Linked DNA regions of Homo sapiens: regions 2, 3, 4, 5, 6 and 7 are each linked to region 1. Evidence: promoter capture Hi-C in 16 types of primary human blood cells and fetal thymus (Javierre and others, 2016). All regions are on one chromosome and are shown on one strand. Each heading gives the region's core, a stretch centred on a gene start or on the middle of the fragment in contact. The rest is flanking DNA. Distances are from core to core; before and after follow the strand shown. Region 1 holds the start of MSMO1 (methylsterol monooxygenase 1). Region 2 overlaps CBR4 (carbonyl reductase 4). Region 3 overlaps PALLD (palladin, cytoskeletal associated protein). Region 4 holds the start of PALLD (palladin, cytoskeletal associated protein). Region 5 holds the start of DDX60L (DExD/H-box 60 like). Region 6 overlaps DDX60L (DExD/H-box 60 like). Region 7 overlaps DDX60L (DExD/H-box 60 like).

Evidence for each region. Contacts are between HindIII fragments. The CHiCAGO score rates a contact against its expected background, and 5 or more counts as called.
Region 2: a contact is called between a fragment that was not itself captured here and the fragment with the promoter of MSMO1 in region 1, in 1 of 17 cell types (total CD4 T cells). The highest score is 8.8, in total CD4 T cells.
Region 3: a contact is called between a fragment that was not itself captured here and the fragment with the promoter of MSMO1 in region 1, in 1 of 17 cell types (M1 macrophages). The highest score is 6.3, in M1 macrophages.
Region 4: a contact is called between a fragment that was not itself captured here and the fragment with the promoter of MSMO1 in region 1, in 1 of 17 cell types (total CD4 T cells). The highest score is 8.6, in total CD4 T cells.
Region 5: a contact is called between a fragment that was not itself captured here and the fragment with the promoter of MSMO1 in region 1, in 8 of 17 cell types (total CD8 T cells, activated CD4 T cells, non-activated CD4 T cells and 5 more). The highest score is 19.2, in total CD8 T cells.
Region 6: a contact is called between a fragment that was not itself captured here and the fragment with the promoter of MSMO1 in region 1, in 2 of 17 cell types (activated CD4 T cells and naive CD8 T cells). The highest score is 7.7, in activated CD4 T cells.
Region 7: a fragment that was not itself captured here is called in contact with the fragment with the promoter of MSMO1 in region 1 in 1 of 17 cell types (M0 macrophages); the score reaches 8.9 in M0 macrophages.

The regions. Positions count from the first base shown.
Region 1 is chr4:165,325,429-165,329,550 of GRCh38, reverse strand. It overlaps MSMO1 (methylsterol monooxygenase 1), which reads right to left and starts at 1,882. Exons shown (of 6, transcript NM_006745.5): 1 at 1,787-1,882. RefSeq lists an enhancer at 1,584-1,853 and a silencer at 1,944-2,283. The HindIII fragment of the contact is 2,277 bases long and covers 1,050-3,326 here.
Region 2 is chr4:168,996,428-169,000,549 of GRCh38, reverse strand. The region is part of intron 4 of CBR4 (carbonyl reductase 4); the gene reads left to right. Among named protein-coding and RNA genes, the nearest start is that of CBR4, 12 kb to the left of the region's middle. The HindIII fragment of the contact is 5,232 bases long and covers 1-4,122 here.
Region 3 is chr4:168,570,151-168,574,272 of GRCh38, reverse strand. The region is part of intron 2 of PALLD (palladin, cytoskeletal associated protein); the gene reads right to left. The region is part of intron 1 of LOC124900807 (a long non-coding RNA gene); the gene reads left to right. Among named protein-coding and RNA genes, the nearest start is that of PALLD, 75 kb to the right of the region's middle. The HindIII fragment of the contact is 276 bases long and covers 2,209-2,484 here.
Region 4 is chr4:168,496,092-168,500,213 of GRCh38, reverse strand. It overlaps PALLD (palladin, cytoskeletal associated protein), which reads right to left and starts at 3,162. Exons shown (of 22, transcript NM_001166108.2): 1 at 3,020-3,162. All of the region lies in intron 1 of LOC107986198 (a long non-coding RNA gene), which reads left to right. The HindIII fragment of the contact is 1,996 bases long and covers 775-2,770 here.
Region 5 is chr4:168,479,585-168,483,706 of GRCh38, reverse strand. It overlaps DDX60L (DExD/H-box 60 like), which reads left to right and starts at 3,215. Exons shown (of 38, transcript NM_001012967.3): 1 at 3,215-3,330. RefSeq lists an enhancer at 2,957-3,196. The HindIII fragment of the contact is 3,319 bases long and covers 387-3,705 here.
Region 6 is chr4:168,462,965-168,467,086 of GRCh38, reverse strand. All of the region lies in intron 4 of DDX60L (DExD/H-box 60 like), which reads left to right. Among named protein-coding and RNA genes, the nearest start is that of DDX60L, 15 kb to the left of the region's middle. The HindIII fragment of the contact is 3,373 bases long and covers 167-3,539 here.
Region 7 is chr4:168,376,195-168,380,316 of GRCh38, reverse strand. DDX60L (DExD/H-box 60 like) reads left to right here. Exons shown (of 38, transcript NM_001012967.3): 31 at 487-591; 32 at 813-954; 33 at 1,842-1,963. Among named protein-coding and RNA genes, the nearest start is that of DDX60, 60 kb to the right of the region's middle. RefSeq lists enhancers at 933-1,102, 3,566-3,735. The HindIII fragment of the contact is 1,149 bases long and covers 1,401-2,549 here.

The DNA of each region.
Region 1 (4,122 bases), core at 633-3,132:
GATTTGATACTTCTCTTCTTGAAATACCGCCTTTCCTTGGTTCTTGGAACTTAAATGCATTCACTCTGACAAGTATTGTGCATTCATTGTGCTAGCTGGTGCCCTTACCCCTGAGTTCATAAAACATAAAATTTAGTGAGGAATAACAACTAGTGTCCAAACCATCAAAAATTATGTGATAAGAACAATAAAGGGGGGAATACACAGTGCTATGAACTTCTAGAGAAAGGTGCTATCTAAACTGAGACCTAGAACAGGAGAAGGAGGTGACAAATTAAAAAATAGAGTGAGGGAGAGAGGGTCAAGGGAGGGGTTTTGCATAGAGAGAACAGCAACTCCAAAGACTCAACCAGGAGATTAGAAAAAATATGAGAATTGAAGCTGGAAAGTTTCCCAATAATGCCTTCCTTACTCCCTTCTAACGATTCCAGATTGTCTTGGGTGATCTTAACTATTTTCTGTTTTAAAAATATGCTGACATCCATCATCTCTATCTCTAGCCCTCTCCCCTAAACTCCAGGATCTAATTATCCAAGTTTACTGGTCATATCCAGTCAGAGAGTTCAGAGGCACATGAACTCACTCAACAGGTCCAAAGGTTCAGTATGTGCTCCTCACAACCCCCGCCCAAATACTAGGCCTCCTTTAATGCCTAATTCTCAGACATAACGTTTTAAGTCTCTCCCATTCTGCTGCCTTAAGTCTTCAAACTCTTACCCAATTTAGAAACACTTGGTTTAGTTAACATTCAGGAATTTACTTTTCACAAAGGAGCGAGGGAATGGATATACTGTTGCTAACCGAACAAGGAATTAAAGAGGAGAGGGGAAACAAGGTCTTGGAAAATTGAATTTCCTTTTCCTTTACTCATTCTTGGGCAACCTAAATGACTGGAAGCCTGTTCTGGAACAGGTTGACTAGATAAATTTAGTTATTTGTGGATTCTCAGAAACCTTGAAGTTTAGCTGTCAGCCAGTCTCTGTCCTTTGGCACTTTAACACGGATTTCACCAGCTCCTTCATTTTCTGGACTTGCCCTGCCTCCAAGCTTGCCCTTCCTAAACCTTATTTCTAAGATGCAATGCCACGATCTATATAAATTTAAACATCAGAGATAACCTCCTTAAAACACTCAAAGTTCAAGGGAGTGCTTGCCCTAAGCATAAAGATCAAGCCCCGCTGTGATTGATGCACACGAGGCCCTTCCAGACTTCTTCACTCTTCATTTCTTACATTCTCGCCATCCTACACTTCACATTTTTGCAGTATCTGATCACTCATGGTTGCTACTGCTTCATTCCTCTCTGCCCACGGAAATATCGTTCCCTTACAGGTGATGTCCTCCCATTCAACTCCTAGTCATCCTTCAGTAACCTCCTCTCGGACGCCCTTCCCAACCCCACTACTCCCAAAGCACACTACATCTTACCTCCTTCTAGTGGTTCCTGCTTTTGTATAACTTTCGCCAGCCTATCACCCTGTGCTGCAACTATCTTCTACGTCCTGTCTCCCGAAGACAACACATTTTAAAGGGCAAGAAACATGCCCTAGCCTAGTTCCATCACTTAAGAATTTCACTCCGTTTTCATCCTTTCTAGCACGTACCTTAGCCTAGGCCCACCTTCACTCCAGTCTCCTTCCGCCCCGTCTCGGGTACCACTGCCAGCGTCCCGCCCAGCGCGTGCATCCGCACCCAGAACCCGCTCCCCTCGATCTCACGGAGCACCGGGTGGGAGCCCGCCTGCTCCCCCTTCCTCGCTCATGAGCCACTCCTCCAACCCCCTCACCTGAACGGCCGCGAGATGACTGCCGGCCACCGACACCGAGGACTCGCCAGGTGTTCCAACCTCGGAACCTGCCTCGCCTGGCTTGGGGGTGGAGCCGGGTGGGCCAGGCGGCCCGTCCTGTCGTTATTGGCCTGCGAGAGCTCCCGCCCCGCCTTCTCGGCGCGGTGATTGGTCTGTGCAGTTGCCGACATCGTGTGACTCGCGCGAACGAGCTCCTGGCGGTCCCAGCCATTGGCTCCGCGGATGGAGTGAGGATAGTGAGACCTGCAGAGCCAGCCAATGGTCGGCACCGCGGAGCGCCCGGAGGCGGGGAAGCGTGAGAGCGCGCCACGGCGTGAGGGGGCGGGCACAGACGGATGGCCGCCTCGCCCTGCAGCGCGGAGTCGCCTTGGCAACTGCGGTCCCGGCAGATTCCCAGTGAGAGCCTGCGCTGTGCGGGGGAGAGTGTCGCGCCGGCCGCCGTCCCAGGACTTTTATTTCAAATGTGACCTGTGTAGCAACCGCAGTTCCCAAACCCGGGAAGAAGAGAGTATAGATGAGTCTTAAAATCTATGTTGACTGTTTTGTGTTTCCAGACACCCTTGCCTTCCTTTTTCTGGTCTACCATTTAGATTTAGATCTTTCGTCTCCCTTGTTTCCCCAGCCTACGTATCCTTTAATAAATTCCTGCATTTTGAAAACGGAGAATTTCAAATGCGATTATCGTCATTTTGCAGATGAGAAATAAAGGCTGGGAAAGATTTAAAAAGATTGAACATCAAGGGAGAGTTCGGCTCCCAGGACCTTGACCTCGCTACATGGGCAGAGAACGCCCAGGTGTTGTTGCAATTGTTGTGCTGGACGATGAGTGCCCGGGGGCGGGGGCGGGGGCGGGGGCTTGACGCAGGTCTTTGCAGCTCTAAAGCTCAGTTTACACCATCTCTCAACATTAAAATATTGTGTACTGGGGTTTAATAATAAAACTGTACAGATGTGATAATATACTAAAACTTTCACTTAACGGAAGAGGTGCCTTTAAAGAAAAAACCGCACAGGGGCATCATTTGGGCTAGTGAAGGCCCTTTTTCCTCCTTCTTTATTAAGGTATAATTGACAAAAATTGTGTTTACGGCGTACACATGTTTTGATTATGTGTATATTGTGTCAAATATATACAGCTTCTGAAAACAGAATACTATTGTTTCATTCCTCCATGCTTTTGCTCAAACTGGCCCTTCTGCCTGGAATAATCAGCCATCTCCATGCCGCCCCATCAATTCAGGTACTATCTCCTTGAGGAAGTTCCCTCTTGAAAAGTGTCTTTTTTAGATTCAGTGTGACCTGTACTTATTCGTCTATCCCTCATGTTTGGCACACACATTCTTTGTAAAGTATCATGACAGCGGTCACGTCAAATGAAAAGAAATGGGATCTGTCCCTTGGTTGTCAGAGTCAGCCCTGTCTTTAGGATGCCTTTACAGTGGTGTCTGAAACCATGCCTATATACTTTATGAAGTTAATCTGGGAAAAAGGGGTGGGGGGAACGAAATTAAACCAAGCTTGCAGCACACTGAGGATTAATAATTAGGTCAGCTTGCTGTCTGACCCCTTCCTCATAATTGTTTGCCTATTGCTTCAGAATCATGTAGACTCTGTTACAAGGTTATAGTTTCCCCTAACTGCTCTATAGACAACAACTTGAACATTATGAAACGTTAAGTTTGTGCTTTGAGATAACCTTTCAGGTCCTTCGTACTGATGAAACTACTGACTCAGCTGGTCTGACAAGGAGCTGACTCACCAAAGAATGCAGTTCCCACATCCTGATGGTTTCATTCCTCCTTACCCCAGCCAATCGAGGACCCTAATTTTCCAGCCCATTGCCCTCCAGGATCCCCTTAAAAGCCCCAGCACAGAACTCCTCAGAGAGATGAATTTGAGGGTTTCCTCCCATCTCCTCTCGGCACCCTGCCATCACTAAACTCTTTCTCTTCTGCAAACCCTGCTGTCTCAGTGTATACTGTGCAGTGGGCATATGAATCTGTTGGTCCTGTAGTGGATGCTGTGGCACACCACCCAGATCCCCCTCTTCAAGACCTAAGCAGGCATTCCTCCAGCTGCTGAGTACTGCCAAAGAGAAGCACCTCTCCCCACGGGTATACCCCCTTTCTAGGCAACAGCTAGTCAAGTAACTGGTTGAAACGGGTATAAAATCCCCTAAACCAATGTAGGGCTACTTTGCTTGGCCATCCCAGCTCCAGAGCTCCCCATCCTATTGGTTGTGTGATGACTGCACTGCCACCCAACTTTTCTCTCTGCCCAAACCTGCCATCCTCTATCAGGTGAGCATCAATAGC
Region 2 (4,122 bases), core at 603-3,102, 3.7 Mb before region 1:
ACCTTTCCCTTTCCGGTCACTAATGGCTCCAGCTTGGACCTTACAGTTGGTGTTTTCTTTGGCACTGAAGTTGAGCCAGCAGGTATCAGGGATTTATCAAAATATCCTATTAACCCTTTTGGTCTATAGTGTGTCTTTATTTCAATTCTTTTCTTTTCTTTTTTTTTTTTCTCATAGCAACTAGCTACATTCAGACATTCTAAATCTATGAATATTTGATAAGTGACTGTGGTTCAGATACATCTATTTGCTGGGAGTAGGGAGAGAAAGAAAAAGAAAAAACAATCCAGAAGCAGCATTGTTGTTATCTTAGCACTGTTTTCTCTTTGTGTATGCTTTATGCAAGCTGATTGATTTTTAGCGTTAGCCTAGATGAACTATCTGTGGAATAAATTATTTGTGGTTTGGAACTACATGTATTTGCTTCCTTCTCTTTTCAGGATTGGAATACTGTGGGTAATGAAGGGTTAATTTTAGTTCATGATAATACAAAAGCTGAATGGTTTCGGGGAATGGAAGTGTACTTAGCTAACAATAACTCATGCAGCAAACTTTCTGGCATGTCTCCTACGTGTAGGGACTGAGCTAGCTCCCCAAATTACAGGAATGAATAAGATATTTCTGCACAAGGAGCTAAGTATAGTGAAAAAGACTGACATGTAAACAAATAATTGCAGTGTCATATGACGAATATAAAATAGAGGTACATATATGGTGCTATAGAAATGTTGAAGAAGGAAAGAATGCTTAATTTTGTCTAGTTTAGAGTAAATAGTTGTCAAGGCAGTAGACTAAATAGTGGGAATCCAGTTTGCATACTAAGGGGAAGTTTTAAGATTGTTATGGAAGTGTGGTTGTAGTCTTTCTTTCTTAAAGATTTTACTTTCCAGTGCAGTTTTTTTTTTTTTTTTTTGAAAGTGGTGGTTTTATTTATCACTCCCCTTTTTTGTTGAGCATACAACCCTTATAGAGCATAATATATATTTATATATTATGGATTTCCAGTGCAATTTATACTACAGATAAAAACCTGTAGCTGAAAATGTGGCCATTTAATAGAGTGGCCTTTATGTATATTTAGCAGATTTGATGGTATGAATATGCATCATTTGTCAGAAGCAAAGTGCAACTTGAAATAGTAGAATTAAATCAGTTCTGTGGATTACTTACCAACTTTATTTTAGATAGTAATTTCAACCAGATTCTTCAACAGATCTTGTAACACAGCTAACAAACATCACAGTTAACAAATATGTGTCCTTTTATGTCAGTTTTCCTGGTCACCTTCAAATGGAGTTTCCAATTAGCAGGAAAACAGTTTAAAAGCAAATTATAACAGGAAAAGCAAGGAACAAGGAAAATAATAAATTAGGCTGCGATTCATTGCCTAATACTGTTGACTTTTTAAAGATCAATAGCTGCTAATCTTTGGTATTACTTTAAATATAAAATAAACTGTTCATGGGAAATCATACTGATTGGAAGATATTGAATATTAGAAATAATATTTGATAAATGGAAACTGTAATGGCTGTATTACCTTAAAAAATATGTGTTTTGAATAGATAATACATATAGTACGAAATTCAAAAGTACAAAAAGGCATAAAGAGTCTTTTCTCCTCTGGACATTCAGTTACTTAAAAGTAGTTGCTGTTAACTACAAAGTTTCTTTTGTATTTCATATATAAGCCAATAAAGCATGCTGGGCATGAGTGTAAGAAAACACAAATTGTATCATGCAATTCACAGCTTTCTGTATCTTCCTTTATTCATAGAACAAGATACCTTGGTGATGTTTCTGTGTTATTCCATATAGAGCTGCTTCACTTTTTTAAATAACAGCTTTGTGGAAATACAATTCACATACCATACAATTCACCCATTTAAAGTTTACAATTCAGTCAATTCAGTGGTTTTAGTATAGTCCCAGAATTGTTCAATCTTCACCACAGTAAATTTTAGAACGTTTTCATCATCCTTAAAGAAATCCTAAACCCATTAACATTCATTCCCTATTTCTTTCCAATCTCCCCAGTACACTAAACTACTTTCTGTATCTACAGATTTGCATATTCTGGACATTTCATATAAATTGAATCATGTAATATTTGGTGTTTTGTGACTGTTATGTCACTTTTAATGACTGAATGAAAACAGAAAATGATGTTTGTTTTAAAGGTATACCTAATTTATTTAACCTGTTGCCTTTTGATGGACATTTAGTTTTGTTCTGAACTTTTTCTGTTACAACTAATGATGCAGTGACAATACTTGTATGGAGTTTATTTTGCACATTTGCAAGTATATGAGTGTAATCTTGGGACTGGAACTGCAAAGGCTTCAGAGGTATGTGCATTTTTAATTTTGACAAATAGTATTATGTTTATTTCTACAGGATACCTTAAGTGTTTCAGTACTTTATTTTTTAAGTTGAAGAGCTTTTATGTTTACTACTTGGAGAAAATCTTGTTGACAAAGATTTGCATGAGTTTGTTAGCTACTCAGAGAAGATATTCTAAGTGTTCTTATGTGCTGTTTGGAATGAAGTTGATTTCCCACTCTGCTTCCCTCTACAAATATAATATTAAGACATAGAAATTTGTTCTAGTTAAAATCTTGGTTTAGCTTTTTGGTAAGAGCCTTATTTCTTCTCCCTTAGAAAAGTGTTGGGTTGTTTTTGTTCTTTTTGAGTCCTAGAAACTTACATCAAAGAGTGGACATCTTATCTGGCAGATACATCAAATAGTGCCCCATCTCACAATTGTTAGTACTAGTGATAGGCTAAAATCCTGATGCCTTTTTAAATATAAAGGCTCTGCTGTATATAAAAATGTTGAAAACTAAAATAATGACCTAGGGATATGGAAATGAGGTGTTTCTATTTATAGTTTATAGCTAGTCAGAAATCGATAAAGGATATAATCTTTTTAAAAAAATTGTTTAAAAATTTTTTTGAGATGGGGTTTCATTCTGTTGCCTAGGTTGGAGTATAGTGGTGCAGTCTTGGCTCACTGCAGCCTAGACCTTCTGGGTTCAAGCGATCCTCCTGCCTCAGTAGTAGCTGGGATTACAGGCATAAGCCACCACACCTGGCCTATATCTTTAGAGTTTATCAAATATAAATCCTCATTGGGCAGGAGCCATGCATTTACCTTTTTGAGCAAGAGTGTCCCTGTTCCTAAAGAGTTCCTATAAAAATTGAACTGGGTTTTTAATCACATATATGGAACTAAACTAGAAGTATCTTTGCTCTAAATTGGTTTAATGCTTGTCATTTCAGTTATCTTTTCGTCGAGTTAAGAAGTGATAACTTTGTAGCCAATTGGAAACCTCTGACTGTCCAGGTGATGCAGTAGCATCATTTGTTGGACAGTGGCATCTACTGGTAGTCTGTAAATTTTATAGCCTAGTTTGAAAGGCATTGTTAATATATACCTAGCAAAAAGGGGAGTAGAGCACAATTTCCAGAATTTTATAAATGAAGTGAAAGAATGATATGGGGGAGAGTCCTTTGGGGCCAAGGAGAGAGAGCACAGACCGGAAAGTAATACAAGTAGTAAGAAGGGTGTGTGAGTTGTTTAAGGACTATTAATCTCTCTCTTCAGGTCTGTGATACATGATATGGAACCTAAGAGACCATTTATATGTCATGTCCTGGGTTGTGAATATATTTATAAATGAAGATCACGTGGTTCATAACCTTTAATATAAAATGACATGGAAGTTCCATACAGCCCAGAGTAATTTATCATTAGAGACTAGCTTTACATTTTTAATTTAATTTCTGATAAATTTTATTTAATTTCTGATAAAGTGGGGACAGATACATGAGTTTTAAAAAGCTACAGACAGATTATTAGGGCAGTAAAACTATTCTGTCTGCTACTGTAATGGTGGACACATGATATTATGCATTTGTCCAAACCTGTAGAACTGTACAGTCTAAAGAGTGAACCCTTAGCTTGTGAAGACAAAATGGTATTAATAAATGAATACATAAATATATAAAATAAAGAGTGAACCCTAATGTAAACTATGGACTTTACTTAATAATGTATCAATATTGGTTTATCAGTTGTAATAAATGTGCCACACTAAGGTAAGATGTTAGTAATGGGAA
Region 3 (4,122 bases), core at 1,097-3,596, 3.2 Mb before region 1:
AAAGCACAATAATTTATAATCAGTGATTGATCCCATTGTACCCACTGAAAGTAAGAAGTGACTCAGGATATCCAAAATAAGTTTCTAAACATTCTCTGACTTTGGGAGGTTTCTGAAAGTCATGTTTTTAACTATGCAATAAGTGTCTGATGCTTCTCAACATGCCCTTTTTATTATCTCCAGCATTCCATGACTATACTGTTTATGCTAGTATTATGCTTAATTAAGCACCACGACAATACCAATAAGAGTCTGAAAGCAAGACGTGGCACAGATCATCCAAAAATGTAGCTATCCTGGCAAGCTGAGGATAAACCTTGCAAAAAAAAAAAAGCTGCTTCCCAGAAGTTGTTTTCTCTTTAATTAAGATTCAAACGTAAAAGGTTGTATTCCAAGGATAAATGAACATAGTGATCAAGATTATGTTAGTAGTCTCAAGCATTTAGAAATACAATACCAGGGTTACTGTTTTTCCACACCAATAATGGTATGCAGCTTCGTATAATTGGGAAGGGTACCTTTATGCTTTATGAACAGACCATAGGAAAGAGGGCCTCCTAGAAGCATGATTTTCTCCAGGGATCCTTTTCTAACCCTCTCAGCCTGAGATGGTTCCTTCCCAACTTCCCACGTTCTTTTAGAACTCTTCATACCTTTCAGTCATAGCAATCATCTCTCTAAATTGTAGTTACTGATTTATTGTCCCCCACCAATAAAAACCAGAAGGGTATTTGGGATATGTTTCCTTACATGACCATCAATCTTCTTAGCCATTCATTCACTCATTCATTCAAACCATATGTCAAGGTGTTTTGGACACTGGGGGTATAGAATTGGGAAAGACAGACAAACTCAGCTGATAAGGAACTAAAGACCTAGTGAAAGGAGAGAGATAGTTCAACACATAAGCAGGTAAATAAACAAATGACTGCAGAGAGTGGTAAATGCTACACAATTAACAAAAAAAAAGGCAATGGGGTAGAAAGAAATGGGGTAGGGGAGGGATCCTTTGGCGGGAGTGTTCAGAGCAGGGCTTCCTGAGATGGTGACTTTTGAGCTGAGACCTGTCATCATGAGAAGATCTAGGAAAAAGAGCACTCCAGGCAGAAGGAACTGGAAATGCACAGGCCCTGAGACTTCCTGTGCTTGGAAATCTTGAGAAATGGAAAGAAAGCTTACTCAGAACACAGCTGTAGGCGTGAGTTGGGGAGAAGAGTGGTAGATGAGGGTGGAGAGGTGGACAGACTCTAGAACATGCTGGCTGGGCCTTACTTGTAGATTATATTAAGAACAGAAGATTTTGTTCTAAATTAATAAAAAAAAAAATCTGCTCCAGACATCAGCCTGCTGACAACCACCTGTGCTGGTGGGTTGTTGGCAGGCTGATGTCTGGATCAGATTTACAATTTAAAAAGAACACTCTGACCATTATATGGAGCACAAAAGAAGGTATACTATTTAGGAGGTAGCTGCTGATGTCCGTGGAAGGATGGCTTGGACCAGGGCTGAGCAGTGTGGGTGGCAAGAAGCGTGTTCAGATTTGGAGGTTTTGCCAATGGGACCTGCTGATGAAGTAAGCTGTGAAGGAACAGAGTATGACTCTCAGGCTTTGGCTTTAAGCAAGTGGCTAGATGGTGGTGCCATTTTCTGAGACTATATGAGGAACAGATTGGGAAGGGGGATATCAAATCAAGTGTTCGGTTTGGACACGTTGAGTTTGAGAGGCCTATTAAACGTCCACACCTAGTGAAAGGGTTTACTAACCCAGAGCAAATCAAAAGGTGGAGGTTCCCCTTAATATTTTTCTACCGCTGTGAAAAAGCAGTTAGAATCTTGGCCCTTGGAGGGAGAATGACCTGAGTTTGTACCCCAGTTTTCCTACATAACCATTTTGGATAACTGTTCTGTTTGAGCCTTAGTTTCCGTATCTGGCAAATATATCTATATCATGGGATTATTGTGAAGATTAAATCAGATCATGGATGTGGTATATTTATAGAGTACCTGGACCACACTGAGTGCTGAAAAATGATACCACAAACTGACGGCTATAATGGTGGTGATGAGGCAGTGCTTAAGGTGACAAGTGCAGAGGGAGGTTTCACTGCCAAGAAGAAAAAGCTGTGTCCACTGCACTGAGTACTGTATCAGGAGGGACAGGAAGTCGATTTCTTACTAAGCAAGGCCTTTCTTCTCAGGCTTTAAGCTTCTAGTGCTTCAGGTATTACAAGGGCCAAGCCTATTGACCAGCCACCATACTACAATAGATTCATCCGCCTCGGCCTCCCAAAGTGCTGGGATTACAGGTGTGAACCACCATGCCCGGCCTGGCACTGATAAAAAATGCTGTAACTCAGTCAGGCCTGGCACTGATAATTCTTATAAACAAAAATGCTGTAACTCAGTCATCTACAGTAGTCTCGAGGCAATAGAATTATTCAGAACATTAACTTCTCTTCAGGTTTAAAATCTACAGAGAAAGCTTTAAGATTCTTTGGCTTAGTAGTCTACTCAATAAGCAGTTGTGGAAGGCTGATGTTCATAGCATGAAATTTACCTTCAAGAATCTTGCATTCTGCCGATAAAACCAGATTTCTAAAGAATGCTAAAAATTGTCAACAGACAAGGAGAATACAGAGAACTGAGTGGCTTGACTTCTATAGTTTTACAAATTCTCGATCTGTGAAAAGTAACACATTTTGGGAGTCAACTGGAATTTAAATGAAGTCAGGGATTGCAATTAAAATTTTTTCCTTAGATATACTTAAAAACTTCTAATTGAATGGTTGATAAGTTACGTAAATATTAAGCTAACCTAAGAATTGTGAATGGAAGAAAACTTTTCCAGTTTCAGGTATGTAATGAGTCAACTATCAAAGCAGATAAATTTGATTGATAACTTGGACATAGTGCTTACGTTTAGGGGAAAAAAGTTATCTTAGTTTTAAAATGGATCCAGCTAGAATCTTCTACTTACAGTTCACAGAATCACACATAGAGTAAATAGATGAATGAACTGGTAAGTTTTAGAGCATGTGGTGCAGAATAAATGAAGCAGAAGGAAAAGAGGGAAGAAACTCTGGAAAGCTTCTGGGAGAAAGGAGAACTGAATGGTAAAGAAGGCAACGGTGGTTAGGATGAAATGCAAAGAAAATTCATGGACTGCAAGGTTTTAAAAGCTCTCTATGTTTTTTCTTTAGATGAGAACCCTGCCATTATTTTCAAAGAAGAGAGCCAAAGAAATAAGCTCCAGAGAATAAAAATCAAGATTACAAAACCAAGTCAGGCATAGAGCCTAAATAAATGCTTCACAAGGCATAGATTTATATTCACCTCTTTGTTATTCCCTAAAATGTGATTTGAGAATAAATGTGGATAGGAGAAAACTTTTCCAGTTTTAGGGATGTTGGAGGATAAGAACTGATCAATATTCAGGAATTAACCAAGAGTGTCAATCCAGGACAAAAATGAATGTGAACAGCTGTGTTTCCCAATTTGACTTCAGGACATTGGATCTTTAGTATTTCCATAATATGACTATAAAAAAATGTCCCTCTAGCCTTATTGCTTTCCTTAATGGATAATGCTTTTGGCTTGGATCTTTGTGTGGAAAAAAGGATCTTTTGTCTCATAAAATGTTACAGATGCTTCTATGGTAACACATTTTAATTTTATTCCTATCTCAGAAGATAAACATGGAAAAGTGCAATTGGCAATTTAATCTAATATTTAGCATTAGCTTTAAGTCCACAGAGCATTTTGGTTTTTGTTTTAAAGGAACATTGGCACTTTTGTTAACCTGCTGTACTCAATTAAGCAAAATCCTGAAGGCGTGTCTAAAAGGTATTACTTTGCCAACTTAAAAATACCATGTGGCCAAGTTTTAAAACCCGTAAGGGAAAGAAAGCATGCCACTTCTAGGACAAAATTCTTAGGTGGCCAGAATGGGTTTGTATTTATGGGAATTTTCTTCTGGGCTAAAAACAAAAACCAAACATTTCAGCATTTACAAAGACAGTATCTATTTGGTTTGAAATAAAATCCGCCCGTTAAATAGACAGACAATTATTGAATGGTTGTTCTAGTAGTAAGCCCCGCAACATATTGCAGTAAAACTTTTGA
Region 4 (4,122 bases), core at 523-3,022, 3.2 Mb before region 1:
GTGACAATGCAAGTTGTTCCTACATAACAGCTTGGAAGTTACCTGCTTTCAAAAGTGAACAGTTTGATCCTCAGAACAATCCATGTAGTAGATGTTATTTTTCTATTTTATTGTTTGTATTACCCACAACTGCAGCAGAAAAAGTTTCAATTATTTGGCCCAACCTGAGCCATCAGAAAGTGGCAGACTCAGGGTGGAAGCCTGCATTTAACTGCAAAGTTTTCTTCTCTCATTGGAGATATTATAGGAAATTACTTTAAAAATTTAGATAAGGGGAAAACTTTTGAAGTCTGTTTGTGAAATACTTTGAGTCGATGAAGAACTGCTACAATTTTGAAAGAAAAAGTTTGATGTTAGAAAAACATTGACAGGCAGTAAGGATCACTTAATACCATGTACCACATTCAGCAGATTCTTTAGAGAGTCCAGGTGGAATAGCTAAATTCCCATAGTCATTTAAAAATGTATACATAGATAGGAATAAATATATGAAAATGGTTGGAATAACATACACCAAACAATCAACACTGACCTCTGTGGGGGGATTTAGGCAGGGGTAGGAGTTGAAAGGTGGGACATGCAGGGGGATCTTTTGTTGCTTATTTTGTAATTTTTGAAAAAAAGTTATAAGTGATTTTTAATTTTAGGTTTAGCAGTTTTATTTTCATATTTAAGCAATTACTAAAAAAGTAATGCAAACCATTGATACAAATATTAGATATTGAAATATCTTTTAATAAAACCTAAACTATGAAAACCAAAGTTAGAAAAGCTTTAACACTTAATTTTCATGCTTCAGAATCACAGGCAACCCCCCTAGACTAAATCAATAAAGTCCCTCCCTTCCTCCCTCCCCCCTCCCTCCCTTCTGCCTCCCTTCCCCCTTCTTCCATGTCTCCCTCCCTTCCTCCCTCCCATCCTCCCTCCCATCCTCCCTCCCATCCTCCCTCCCTTCCTCCCTCCCTTCTCCCTTCCTTCTTCCCCGTCTCCCTTTCTTTCTTCCTTCCTTTTTTTTTTTTTTTTTTTTTTTTTTGCTACAAAGGGTCCTTTAGGGCAAAAGTCAAACACGAAAATTTTATGAAATTTTATGTTTGATGCAGAAAATGCACTACAATTTTATAATTTATTTCTTAATAAATACACATGGATTATTTTCCTTTCTAATTATTAAATTGTCAATGCAGGCAGATATATTTATCCTACAGTTTTAAATATCTCTTTAAACAGCTTATTTAATCTCAATTTCAAGGACATAATCTAATAGCTCATTTAATGCAGAAACAGCCAAATAAGATACTTTACAGAGTTTTTGAAGTTATCCCATGTCCTGTTCATCTTATCAACTTTATTCACCATACTGAGTCCATTGCAAATATTTAGATTTTACTTCTGAATTATCCATTTCCATTACCATTATCCAATTCAGGGCTTTATTCTTCTCACTTAAATTCAAAACCTATTTACCAAATTTGCTTCTATATTCTCTAATATGATTTAACAGTTAGAAATTTTAGTCGAAGATACTTTGTTCAATCTTTGTTTTCTTTGCTGTAATTTCACCGGGACACAGTCATTAACTCTAGATGGCCTGAATTTCTAACTGGAGCTCAGTAATTGCAATACCCTTTGACAGCCTCCACACACATATTGTTTAAGAAGTGGAGCTCTTGTCTGGGCCTTGCAGATTCCACTTGGTATCTCTTAAAGAACTTGTCATATTTATTTTTAAACCTGAATAATGATTGCCCTCTACATTTTTAAAAAATGAGGTAAGGAGGTCAAAGTGATTGTACTTGTCCAGTGCAATCCAGATCCTCATTCTATTGTGAAATATGCTATAAGGCCAGTTTTAATATTCAGCTCTAGCAATAACAGAGAAACCCAGAGGAAGAGCTGACACAGAACCCCTGGGATACAGACCCTAATCCATACCAGATTCTAGGATGCCAGAGGACTAATTTATATTCTAGGAATGTGTAATCATGTATTTACAGGGCAGTTAGTGGCCAGATAAACCTCATCGGCCTTTTCTGCTGTTAGCAATAACTTGTCAAAGAGACTTTGATTTTAAAAATCTGAAAAAAAAATCTGAATAATTGAGGTGAGTATTCAAGTTCTTTCTGTGAGAAAAAACATTGGAAGGCACATTTATCATGAAATGAGGATTTAATTTCTGCATATATGTGATTGAATAGATTTGTAATAGTTTTATATTGCCAAGAAATGGCTTTATATGTCACCACATTATTCATACTAGAAGGCAATTAGTATTTTTAGCAAATGTTAATAAGTAATATGAGCCTGAAATCATTTTATGTCAACCTCCTATATTGGATTCAAGACAATTTCATGTGCAACTTAAAACAACATGATAAAAATTATTCTGTGATGTTTAAACTTGACTGGACTCGAGATTGCACTGTGGTTTCCCTTAGTAAGCGTTATCTTATTAAAAATATGTATGTAAATTTTATGCATGAATATAATTTAAAATACCTGCTGTTACTATCCCAACTCATTTAATTATGTCCAGTGAGTTACTTTTAGAATCTTTTGAAAGTGTAATTAACAATTTATAATGTTACTGAAATCTAAGGTCTATCACTTTAAGCCATCATCACTTATCTAGCTTAAATATGGGTGAGGGTCTAGAAAGCTGCGTTTTCCTTTTCTGTGAAACATAACACATACACGATCTTGACAAAAGCTGGCTCCATAAATACATTTAATCCTTTTGGAATTGATAGCACCATCTTAGCATGCTTAAGCTTATAACAGAAAGTGTAATTCTCTGACAGCAAAGGCAGAGATGAAGTGGGCAGGCAAATCTTACGTATTATCTGTTTTTGGCAAAACCGTAACATTCTCATTACGTTTCCTCTCCAAGCAAAAGAATAATTAAGGTATCTTGTAAATAGTATCATATCTTCAGAAAAACTTTTGTATTTTTAGTTTTTTTTTTTTTAAGTCCTTAAAATGTTGCCCTACTAGTTAGTATATTAAGATACACCTTACAGACCTTTTCAATGCTTGGTCAGTTTGAAGACTCCAGAGAGGTGATGAATTTCAGATGAGCATTTCTTCTTTTCTGGGAGAATGGAGGTTGTGGCCTTGCCTATTCATTAGAGACTGCCTGGTCCGTGGTCACTTTGAGGCAACTGTGGCCTCAGACTCTCATCTGTCCTCTTACTCCACTCAGCTATATTTGGTAACTGAGCTCATGTTTCAGCAGACTGCCACGATCAGGAATTCCAGCAGCGGGCTGGGAAGCACCCCCAGGACCGAGGGCTGGGTTCTTAGAAATAAAGCCACTTAACATAGAAGGAACTATATTTATGGATCTGATAAACGTAGGATTTAAACACATTCTTCTATACTTTGGACTTGTAGCTGGAAATCACCACCTGGACCTTTAACATGTTCTTAATCAATTTAAAGTACAGTATGTGACTCCAAGTAGAAAAAGTGATAATCCAAATGGAAGCTCTTCTTACTCTGATCTTCTGTTCTGTGCATTTAAATTTTGGTCATGTGCTAGATTACCCTAAAATAGTAAATTCAGTAACTGAAAATTTAGCCACCTGTCAAATTGAGTGGAAAGTCCCATTGTTCTCTTATTTCATATTGCTAATTAAAAATTGATATATGACTATGGTATGTATTAAAGGCCTTGTCTATAATAGTATTAAATAAGTATGAACACACAGGGACTGGATCTTATCCACATTGCAACATTGAGTTCTTAGCTCAATGCCTAGGACATCATGAGCATCTCTTAAATATTTGTCAAAGAAATAAATGAATGTTGAATGAATAATATTCAGGAAAAGTATCAACCCTCTTACAGTTGCAAAAAATGTTTCACAATCATTTAATATTTTGATCTTTCAAATGACAAATAGATATAGCAAGAGTTTAATATTTTGATCTTTTAAATAACAAACATAGATAGCAAGAAGAGAAAGCTTTTCTGTTTAAAGGTCAGGTAGCAGAATCAAATATAAGGGGGGCAAAAAGAGCAACACAAAAGCTCCCAGTTAACTTGGAAATGGGGTGCTGAGTCTTCCTTTGTCTGGGTAAGACCATCACATTTGATTCAGTTTAATATCTAAATATTTTTTC
Region 5 (4,122 bases), core at 797-3,296, 3.2 Mb before region 1:
TTACAAGGACCCTTGAGATTACATCGGGCCTACTCTGGAAAATCTAGGATAATCCTCCATCTCAAGATCTTTAAATTAATCACATGCAAAGTTCATTTTGCCCTGTAAGGTAACATGCACACATTCTGGGGATTAGGGCATGCACAGCTTTGGGAGCCATTTATTTGTCATTGCACTCTCTGCCCCAAACATTCTCATCAATTCCATATGCAAAATGAGCCATTCCAAGGTCCCCCCAAAGTCCTAATCTATTGTAGTATCAACTTAAGTCCAAAAATCCCATCTAAATCTCATCTGCTGAAAAGACCTAAATGATTAAATCAGGTATAGTTGAGACTTTGGGTATGAACCATCCTGAGGCAAAATTTCTCTCCATATGTGAAGCTTTAAGACTAGAAAACAAGTTATTTGCTCCAAAAATACAATGGTGGAACAGGAATAGGGTACCAGTTACAGATATTCCTGTTCACAAAGGGAGAAAATGGAAGGAGAAAAAGCCAAGAAATTTCAAAAATCTGCAAGGCTAACTCCATAGGTTTTAAGGCCTGTGAATAACCATTTGTGTCTCTAGGCTCTGCCCTCAGAGTCATCCTTCATGAAAGATAGCACAAGTTTGGGGCTGAATAGTTTTATCAGACTGTTTATTGCTTATGGAATTTTGGGAGTCCTATAACCGTCTTTCATTTTATTCTCTCTCTGTACCTTTCAGTTCAAGCTGGCAGTGTTTCTGCTGATATTCTCAGAAATCTTTTGGATTTCCTGTGTATGTCACAGAGATCTTTTTGAAGCACTAGCAAAAGGTTGTCCAGCTGTACTCATGACTTTTTCTCCAGAGTACGTTTTCCCAGCAGTGAGTCTCTTACTTTTACCATCCTTTGCAGTCTTGAAATCCTGATAATTTCCCACATTATCCTTGTCCTGGTTCCTTTTTGATAATAGTCCTTCCCTCTTATAAGGACCCTTCTGATTATATCAGGTCCCCAGATAATCCAGGGTAATTTCCCCATCTCAAGATTCTTAGGAATATCTGCAAAGTTCTTTTTGCAACAGAAGATGACATATTTATAGGTACAAGGATTAGGACATAGATGTCTTTGGGAGACCATTATTCAGTCTACCACAGCTGTAAATAGAGAGAGGTTAACAATATAGGAATGGAGTGAGATTCCTGAGGAAGCTGGAGGTAACCAACTCAAAAGGGAGTGGTTATATTGTATGTGGAGCATGTCATGGGCTTCTTGGACTAGATGGAGGTGTCAGACAGTTAAAAGGAGTCTCTTTAAAACAGATATATTCTTAGTGGACTTGAAGAGAACAGCAAGATGCTGTAGGGTTTTAAGGGCCACTGTAAAAAAGATCAGGAACCTATAGTCATAAACAGTAAATCTGAGGTGAAAAATATTAGACAATTTCCTTCAATGTCCTGGTAAGGGCAAAAAATGGTTTACTAGATTGAGGTGATCAAGTTGCAGTGAAGGTGCAGAGGAAAGAGAGTGGATGAAGCAGTTGAGAATGTTAGTGAGAGGAAGGTTCAGTGCCTGTTCACAGAGTTGATCCTGGGGAGGTGAAAGAGTGGGGCTCCTAAGGAGACTGAGAGATTGAGGCAAGGGGGAAGTCTCTAAAAAGTGGAAATGGAGTTTATGATTTTCAAGTTTCTGGATAATGTCCAGGCTGGAGTTATGGTAACATATTATTAAAGTGGAAGAGAACTGGATATTGATTTGGAGTAGAGTCTGCTTATGTGCATTGTACATATACTTTGCGGTGGGAAGTGGGATGTGTGGAGTTAACATCTAGGGAATCCCCACCTGATACATCTATATCTTTAAGAGAGAAAAACAACAGCAGACAGTCAATTATATTAAGAACATGTAGGGCCCACTTCTACAACCAAAAGAGGAAATCCCCATTAAATTGTATGTGCTTTGGGGGAGGAATAATGACACTGTAGTATTTAAAAGAACTGGAATGAGATAATATATACAGAGAATATTGTAGATATTATCTTTGGAATTAAATTTTGAAGTCTTGGCTACCATTAACTACCTGTAGGGTCATCGACAAGTAATTGAATTCTCTAAGCCTTATTTACCTCATCCATAAAATAGCAACAGTAAAGTTGCTCATGGGATTTCTGTGAGATTTAATGTGATAATACATGTTAAGGGCTTAGCCTATTGCCTGGCACATAAAAAGCTCAATGAATGCTTTTACAGCAAAGCCCAATTTTCTGCTGCTAGCAAATGCATTCTTATGATACAAAGGTCCAGTATCAGATGCTAGAGAGGAATTCATCTGAGATGAACTCATGACTTAATCATGAGTCATTTCAGGTTCTTTCTCAATGTCATCCTCATTGAGAAAGAGAATCATAACTATTTTCAACCAAACATAAAATTAAAGAAAAATCCTGACAGAAGTGAGCAATGTTTTCACCTCCTTTTCGAAGCCACTTTATATTCCAGAGTCTGAGAAAAAACTTTGTTCTTCTGGGCTCTTTCTATTGTGAACAAGTCACTTCCACCCTTTCCTTTTCTTGAAGACAGAACTTCCGGTTTCGATTTCTCTCCATTTATTACCCCATGCCGTTACTGGGGCACCCTCACCACCACCTTGAATCTCAATATATTCTGCACATGCATAACGTCATGGAATTAAGCGTCTGGAGCACTAAAGACCATGATGGGCTGGGGTTGAAACTCGAATTTCAAACATTAATGAGCTTGATGACAAAACTAAAGAGCATTCTTCTTCTCAATTTAAATTCTCTGTGATAGATGATTGGTCTTTCAAATGTTCACACTGGACAGTTATACTATTGGAAATTTTTCATAAAATGAACTTCTTAGGACAGAAACTCAAAGCCCCTAATCCTTTTTTACTCCATTTTTGCCTGTCCAGTACCTTGCCAGAAAAGAAAAACGCCACACCTCACCGCAGACTTTCATAGTGCTTAGCGTGCTGCATTTACTCTCAGCCTCAATTCCTTGTTTAGAGTCCCAGATTTCTCTGCTTTCTTTCCCTTTACAATTACATGCATGTCCCAGATAGCATATCATCGCTTCTACTATTACTTCCCTAAGATTCTCAGAGTAAACCAATGCAGACCTATATTCTACCTCCAGAAAACTGCGGAAATCGAAAAGGCCTCGCGGTGGAGAAAAGAAACCGAAACTAACTCCCTAGATAAAAACTCAGGCGCTGGCTGCTGTGTGGCTCAGAGCGCCCAGTCCGACGCCAGGCTCTGCGCTCGGTCTCCTCTGCTCCACCTCCTCCCCGCGGGGCGTGCAGCTCCGAAGCTCTTTGGACCTAGCAGGTTCGGCGGCCGGGGTGAGGATTGCGGGTGACGTCGGGTGTCGCTAGGGACCCTGGAGCGGAGCTGTCCCGCGGGGGTTCTAGGATTCCTTCAACATCCAGATGGACCGGGCGGGGAGGTGGCCTGGTGGCTTCGTGCGCGCCGGGCGAGGGAAGCTGGGGCGCCCACTGGGCTCGGGCGGCAGCTTCGCGGAGAGGTAGGGAAGAGGGACAACCACCGTGAGAGAGGAGAGTGCTCAGGCATTTAACGGGTCCTCTGCACCCGAGGGGGCCTGGGGATCTGGGGTGCTGAGGAGAAAGTAAGGGTCACCACATCTGAGCACAGCCATTCGAACCTGGACATTGACAGGCAGCAAGCCGCTTCCCTTTTTTCCGTCTTGTATTTAAGCTTTTTTTTTTTTTTTTTTTTTGAGTCAGTCTCGCTCTGTCGCCCAGGCTGGAGTGCAGTGGCGTTATCTCTGCTCACTGCAACCTCCACCTTCCGGGTTCACGCTATTCTCCTGCCTCAACCTCCCGAGTAGCTGGGACTACAGGCACCCGCCACCACGCCCGGCTAATTTTTTTTTATTTTTTATTTTTTATTTTTAGTAGAGACGGGGTTTCACCATGTTAGGCCAGGATGGTCTCGATCTCCTGACCTCGTGACCCGCCCGCCTAGGCCGCCCAAAGTGCTGGGATTACAGGCGTGAGCCACCGCGCCCGGCCGGATTTAAGCTCTTAATAGCGGAAATAAGGTTTTACTATTTCTCTGGAAAGGTACTTTGTTCTTTTTTCCCGCTTCTCTTTTGTTTACAAAGTTACATTGAT
Region 6 (4,122 bases), core at 604-3,103, 3.1 Mb before region 1:
TTTTACACTGAATAACACAGAAGGAAACTAAAATTACCAACAGTTTATATGTAAGCTTGATTCCTGTCTTAAGGAAAAGAAGAACACTGCAAAAGCAACACGTATTCTAACAAAACGTGTTCTAACATGTTTTGTTAGAACACAAACAAAAAACCTCTAAAAAGCTTTCATGTTACACTCTCATTTTGTGAATTGGCAGCTGTCTGTGTCCCTTAAATCTTTGATTATCTGCTGCTTTCTGTGTAGCAGGCAACAAAGCACACAGATTGTAACTATAGCTTACCAAAAGGGGATACATGGACCATATATCCATCACCTGGATACTCTAAACCAGTTTTTAAACATAAACTGCAGAAATCCTGACTAATACAGCAAAATAAGACTTTATTTTTTGGCTAGCTGCTAGTGACAACCAGTGATGCCATAACAGGAGGGGACTGGTCAGAAACATGCACCAACTCTTAATAGCAACTGCTCTACTTGAAATTCACATCTGGTGAAATGAGGACAGATTTTTATTCCTCTATTTTCGAATGATAAATATCATCACATAATTTTACAAATTGAAATGTAATTTGTCATTGTTGTATCTCTGATTCTATAACCTGATATACTGCTAAGGGAAAATAAGGAGTTAACTTTTTAAAAAATGTGTGAAAGCCATAATATCATCTACTGTATGTGACAAAGCCTCACAGATTCTCTATTGTGATAATTTCCATTTTCTTCTGCCCTCATTTATCCTTTATATTGCTAAGTTGTGTCTTCCCTCTTCTTGATTAATCTAGTTAGTGATTTATCAATTTTGCTGATGTTTTCAAAGACCTAGCTTTTTTCACTTTGTTAATTTTCTGTATTGTCTTTTTTTTAATTTCACTGATTTCTACTCTTGTCTTTATTTGTTTCTCTTGGATTTTCCTTACTCTTTTTTCCACTAACTTCATAAATTGAAATTTTAAGCTAAGATCTTTTTTATTTTCTATTTATGAACAGTAAAATTTTTCTTGTAAGCTCTGTTTTAGCTACATATCACAAATTTGCATCTAATGGTTTTTTCTTTACCATTTAATTAGAAATAATTTCTAACATCTCTTGTGATTCTTTTTTCTTTGACTGGTGGATTATTTAGAAATTTGTTGTTTTAAAAGCTGGGGGTATTTCACTACTAGATTTCAAAGTATTCCACAAAGCTCTAGTAACCCAAACAGCATGGTACTGGCATAAAAACACAGTTGGACCAGTGGAACAGAATAGAGAACCCAAAAATAAATTCATGTATTTACAGCCAAATGATTTTTGACAAAAACATATCAAGAACGTTCACTGGGGAAAGGACAGTGTCTTCAGTAAATGGTGCTCAGGAAATTGGATATTCATATGCAGGAAAATGAAACTGAACCCTCACTTTCACTATATTAAAAAATCAATTCAAAATGGATTGAGGACTTAAATGTAGGACCCAAAACTATGAAACTATTAGAAAAAAACATAGGGGAAATGCTTCAGGACATTGGTTAGTGTGAAGATCTTATGGAGAAGACTTCAGAAGCACAGGTAGCAAAAGCAAAAGTAGACAAATGGGATTATATCAAACTAAAAAGTTTCCGCACAGGAAAGGAAATAATCAACAGAGTAAAGAGACACCTTCAGAATGGGAAGAATATTTGTCAGTATTTATCCTACAAGGAATTAATATCCAGGATATGCAGGGAACTCAAACATCTCAATAGCAAAAGAAAAAAAAGATAATCCAATTAAAATGTGGGCAAGTGAGCTGAATAGGCATCTCTCAATAGAAGACATACAAATAGCCAACACATGTATGAAAGCATAGTCAACATTATTAATCATCGGAGAAATGCAAATCCAAACCATAATAAGATAGCATCTCACCCCATTAGAATAGCTGTTGTCAAAAAGACAAAAAAAAAATGCTAGTAAGGATGTAGAGAAAGGGTAACTCATATGCTGCTGGTATGAATTTGAATTAATTCAGTAATTATGGAAAACAGTATGGAGGTTCCTCAAAAAACACAAAAAGGAATTACTATATGAACCAGCAACTCCACTACTAGATATATATTCAAAGGATAGGAAATCAGTATGTTAAAGAGATATCTGCTGTCCTGTGTTTATTGAAACACTATTTACATAGCCAACATATGGAAACAAACTAAGTGTTCATCAACACATGAATGGATAAAGAAAATGTGGTGTATATATACACTATATAATACTATTTGGCTATAAAAAACAAAATTCGGTCATTTGTGGCAACATGATGATCTTGGAGGACATTATTGCACCATAGGGTGGATATAATTAACAGTAATTTATTGCATTTTTTCACATAGTTAGAAGAGCAGATTTGGCATGTTTCCAACACACGCACACACACAAATAATTGTGTCTGATGTGATCAATATGCTAATTACTCTGATTTGATCATTATGCATTGTATACATATATATCAAAATATCACCCTGTACTCCATAGATATGTGCAATTAGTCCAGGTGAGGTGGTTCACATGTGTAATAACAACACTTTGAGAGGCTGAATGGGGAGGATCATTTGAAGCCAAGAGTACAAGACCAGTGTGAATAACAAAGTGAGATCCTGTTTCTACCAAAAAAAAAAAAAATACAATTATAAAGTCACTTAAGGATGATTTTAAAAATTAAAAAACTATTGTTTTAATGTATAAATTCTTGTTTTTTCTAGATGTGTTATTGATTTCTAATTTAATTCCATTGTGGTTGAAGAAAATATTTCTGTATAATTTCAATAATTTAAACATCTATTGGGACTTGTTTTGACGTCCAATACATGGCCTATTTTGGTGAATGTACCATGTGTTCTTGGAAATAATATATATTCTACAGTTCTTGAATATAATCTTCTAGAAATGTCATTAAGTCAGAGTAGTTGATAGCTAAAATTAATTTTTATTTGCAACAATAGATACTTATTTTAAGGACACCTAGGAACATGAGGTAGGAGGAGACTTCCCTCAACCATCTTTCTTTGCTCTCTGATTTTGTATGCTTAAATTCTAGGAAGCACTTTAGGATCAAAACTGAGAAGAAATTGTATTTACATTCCAGTAGAATGGCAAATCAATAGAGGCACTATCCTTATTTGGATTGATCTATATAAACATCCTCAACAGTGTATTATACTATGGTTTTTAAAAATTACAGATTGAATGGCTTCCAATTGTAACAAATCTCAACCCAAATACAAAAGTATATTATGAGCCCATTCCCTCATCCTACTCCTAGAAGCAATTGTTGTTTTACTCCTAAGAATTCTAGTCTATATTTGTTCAATCTTTATACATAGGATTTTTTTGGGGTGGGGGTTAGTTTTGGCACCATTAAAAGTGAAAGCAGTGTTTTGATTGATACCTATAGAAAAGTCAGGGTTCTTTTTAAATTATGACAGTCTAGTAGGCTAGAGTGTCAATATCATTTAAAAACAGATTTTTTTTTAACTTAGTTCAGGGGTACATGTGCAGGTTTGTTATGTAGGTAAGCTTGTCTTATGGGGGTTTGTTGTACAGATTATTTCTTCACCCAGGTATTAAGCCTAGTACCCATTAGTTATTTTTCCTGATACTCTCCCACCTCTCACCCTCCACCCTCCGCCCTCCAATAGGCTGCAGTGTCTGTTGTTTTCCTGTATGTGTCCATGTGTTCTCATCATTTAGCTCCCACTTACAAGTGACAACATGCAGTATTTGGATTTCTGTTTTTGCATTTGGGACATGATCTCATTCTTGTTTATGAATGCATAGTATTCCATGATGTATATGTACCACATTTTCTTTGTCCAGTCTATCATCAATGACTTAGTTTGATTTCATGTCTTTGCTATTGTGAATAGTGCTGCGGTGAACATATGCGTGCATGTGTCTTTATGATGGAATGATTTATATTTCTTTGGATATATACCCAGTAATGGGATTGCTGGGTCGAATGGTAGATCTTTCAGGAATTGCCACAGTTTTCCACAATGGTCAAACTAATTTACACTCCCACCAACAGTGTTAAGCATTCCTTTTTCTCTGCGACTTTATCAGCATCTGTTATTTTTTGATGTTGAGTTATTTTAACTCTCA
Region 7 (4,122 bases), core at 726-3,225, 3.1 Mb before region 1:
TCCAACACTGGGGATTACAATTTGACATGAAATTTGGGTGATGACACAGATCCAAATATTTCCATTCTGTTGACTGCAATCTACCTAATTCCATTAGGTTTAATGGGATAACTCAAGATTCAGAACAATATAATTACTCTATTTACCTTTAGAATGGCCTAAGACAACTAATCTTGTAAGCCGGATTGGCTTTCATACTTCATTTTTTCAGGCCACTATTGGTCACCACTGTTTCAGGGATTTAGCAGATTATTTGCCAGTCTGGGTTATGTATAACAGTTCTGCTTTATATGATGTATTTAATTCAAGGAAGCATGTGCCATGTGAAGATACAATCAAAGAGATAATATGAAATCAAATGAAATTTACTTTCACGTAAGATCTGGTAACCTTATCTATATAGTATGTATGTGTACTATTTATTACATATCAGTATTTACAAATACTGTTTAAAACTAGATAAATTAAAGTACTCTTCTTTTATAGGTGTTGTCAGTGCTAAAGCATTCATTGCTGTCTTTTAAGAGACGAAGAGCCATGGAGACTTTGAAACTTTACTTTTTGTTTTCCTTGCAGCTCCTTATCAAAGAGGTATCATCGTGCTTTGGCTTTTTGTTCTCTGTAACTAGTACCGTGTAAACTTCTTTCTATGCTAAACCAACTGAAATTTCTATAATCTGCATTCAATGATAATGTTACTTATCATTTATTAATAAATGAAGTCAGGTAATATTTGTCAGTCACTCACACTGGTATTTTATGGTATTTGAGTACATGACAAGTTAAATCAACTTTTTGTTTCTCATTTTTAGGACTATTTAAATAAAAAGGGTAATCCAAAGAAATTTGCAGGACTTGCATCATATTTGCATGGTCATGAACCTTCAAATCTTGTTTTTGTAAATTTTCTCAAGAGAGGCCTTTTCCATAATCTCTGTAAGCCAGCCTGGAAAGGTAAGCTTGGGTTTTATACCTGTAGTCGAAAAATGGCAACATATTTATTGAATAGCCAAAACCGCAGATATGTTTTTCTCTTCTTCCTCCTTCTCATTTATTAAAGCAAATAAATACTAAGTATATGTTCAGATTTACAGATGCCAAAAAATTAGACACTAAAAGTCAACTGATATTTATTCTAATAAAGAGTATTTGAGGGCTACTTATATATTACTTAACTGATAAAGAATATTTGCAGAAGAGAAAACGGAGAAGCATAGAAAGACAATAAGTTTCTGATGGTCATATGATTTTAGTATGCTTCAGAGCCCAGTTAATTAAACCTAGCCACCTTTTAATGCCCACAGTATGGTGCTCATGCGTTATGGGGAGTGGAGAGTAGGTCAAGATGACCAGAACCTAGAGCTAGTGTTTAGAAGTGTTGGTAGGTAAGTTTGGAAGCTTTGTTTTGACAGGATTTGAAACACCCTAAAGAGCAGGCCAAGGAACCTGGATTTTTCAATTAGCCGTTGAGATACCCTCAAAGGTTTTTGAGTAAAGGAGGGATATGTTTATATTCATGCTTTGGAAAGGCTGATCACTCTCAAGATGGCCTGAAGAAAGGAGAGTGCAAGTCAGGAAACCAGTTAGTAAACATTCTGGGGTGGGAACTAGGGCGGGTATAGCAAGGATGGAAAAACAAGGCACAGAATATAAAATCTCCTGTCTTACCCAAAAAAATAAATGTGCACATAGTATTGCAAATATGGTCAATTTCTGAGGTATATATTTGCTAGAAAATTTTGCCTTCAACAAAAGGAAATGTACTATAAAAACAAATTTAGGCAGAAAATAAATGGAATCAACATTATTCTTATTTATAATAATGCTCTTTATTTCAATAGGCTCACAACAATTTTCCCAAGATGTGATGGAAAAGCTCGTGTTAGTATTGGCAAATTTGTTTGGAAGAAAATATATTCCAGCAAAATTCCAAAATGCTAATTTAAGTTTTTCTCAGTCAAAGGTAAAGTTTGTTATACTTACAATGATATAATAATGATAGTTATTAAATGTATGCTACTGGAAAGCATTCAGTACCTATAGGGTTAAATTAATATAAGCTACTCCATTTGTTTTAATAGTGTTGTCTTTTCATAATTAGAGTTCTATTTAATTTTTAGTTCAAACATCTTCCCCTGCTAATCTAACAAACAATTCTTATCCCTAAAGTTTTTTCACTTTATTGGAGCAAATTATGTAATTCAGTAGCAACAGAGATTACATACACAAATAGTCATTTAAATAGAATGACAGCCCTACTGCTGAACCTATAGTTCCATTGGGATTGTTTACAGCTAGGGATGGGAGTGCAGGGAAGGAATTACATTATGACCTCTAATGTCCTCTTCAGACAATATTGAGGTGGTCACCTAAGAAAGAATCCCCTAACTTAAGGGTTGAGAGACTGAAAGAAAAATTATTTTCTAAGTTTTTTTGTAACACTGTTTGTTTCCAATTTCTTATTTTTTTAAAGACACAACAACAAAATAATAACAAGCAAACAGAACCCAAGAAAATGTGCATTAGAACCTGGGAATGTAGAAGAAGCTTGTTTCTATCCAGTAACCCTAGTGAATAGAGAACAAAAAGGTAATTAGCATTAATCTAGGCTTTCTGACCTCACAATGCCTCTGGATATACCTCCAGACCTGAGCACCCAATTTTAGTTACTGACATATATCCACATTGCAAACCACTGGAACTGTTAATCATTTTCTTAAATGCATACACATTTTAAAGTATTTAAAAAGGAAACTTCATATTTACTACTACTGTAAATAGAAAGCCAGGATCTTTGATTTCAAAACTAAGGAAGCCATAAAAATAGATGCAGTTAACATGGTTCTCAGCTGAAGCTTCTCTCTCTTTGCTACAAAAAGAGATTATAAACTTTTAGAGAAACAATGGTGGTCTATTGCCTCTGGACTTTCTAGGGTTATCAGAAAGAATAGAAGAGGACTGGAAAGAAGATATTTTTATTTATTTATTTATTTATTTATTTATTTATTTATTTATTTATTTATTTGAGACAGAGTCTTGCTCACTCACCCAGGCTAGAGTGCAGTGGCGCAATCTCAGCTCACTGCAACTTCCACCTCCCAGGTTCAAGCCATTCTCCTGCCTCAGCCTCCCAAGTAGCTGGGATTACAGGCTTCGCCACCACGCTTGGCTAATTTTTTTGTATTTTTAGTACAGTTGAGGTTTCATCAGGTTGGCCAGGTTGGTTTTAAACTCCTGACCTCAAGTGATGCGCCCGCCTTGGCTTCCCAAAGTGGTGGGATTACAGGCATGAGCCACCATGCCCAGCCCACTTTTTATTTTTTAAAACTGATGTATAATTACTCAATGTTCTGTGTGTCACACTAAATCATCTCATGTACCTCTTATATTATGTACCATAATTTGGGATAACTGCTCTATATTAGTCAATTAGCAAAGATTTATTGAGCAATAAATATGTGTAAACTATAGCAAAAATCATGATTGGGAAACATAGTTGCTACCTTCCAAGAGCTTGCTCTCCTGATGGGGCTGTATAGCATACACATTCGAGAAGGTGGCAAACAACACAAGGTGTACATGGTAAGCAGCACGTGCTGCCCTAGAACGGTGTCCAGCAGTGGCACAATGGCAGGACATGGAAGGCATAGCAGTAAAGAGACCATATCACTTTGACCAGAGTGTAGAGCTGCACCTGTCAATTTATTCTTTTGTCTTGGTCCATCCACAGATGGAGCTGAGTCCGAAGTAGGCTTGTGGAAATTGTCATACTATCCACTGTAAGGAGTTGGTAGGGGCATTCTTTATTATGTCCACACGGTTGCCTTTTGTAAGAATCCCCCTGGAAAATTCTTACCTGATATTAGTGCTGAGAATAAATAGCTGTTTATCTCATAGACATTCTGAAATGTGTCATTCACACTTGCTCCTAGGAATCTTGGAATATAATTTGTGCCCCATTTTAGTCTCTTTCTTGTTTTTCTTTCCTTTTTACCAAATTTTGATTTATATGATCATATTGTATTATCTTTACCCTTATAAAATACCTCAATTATTGGAAAAGTACAGGTTATGAATAAATTAAGGAAAATATCAAATAAATAATAAAACCCATAATTGTAA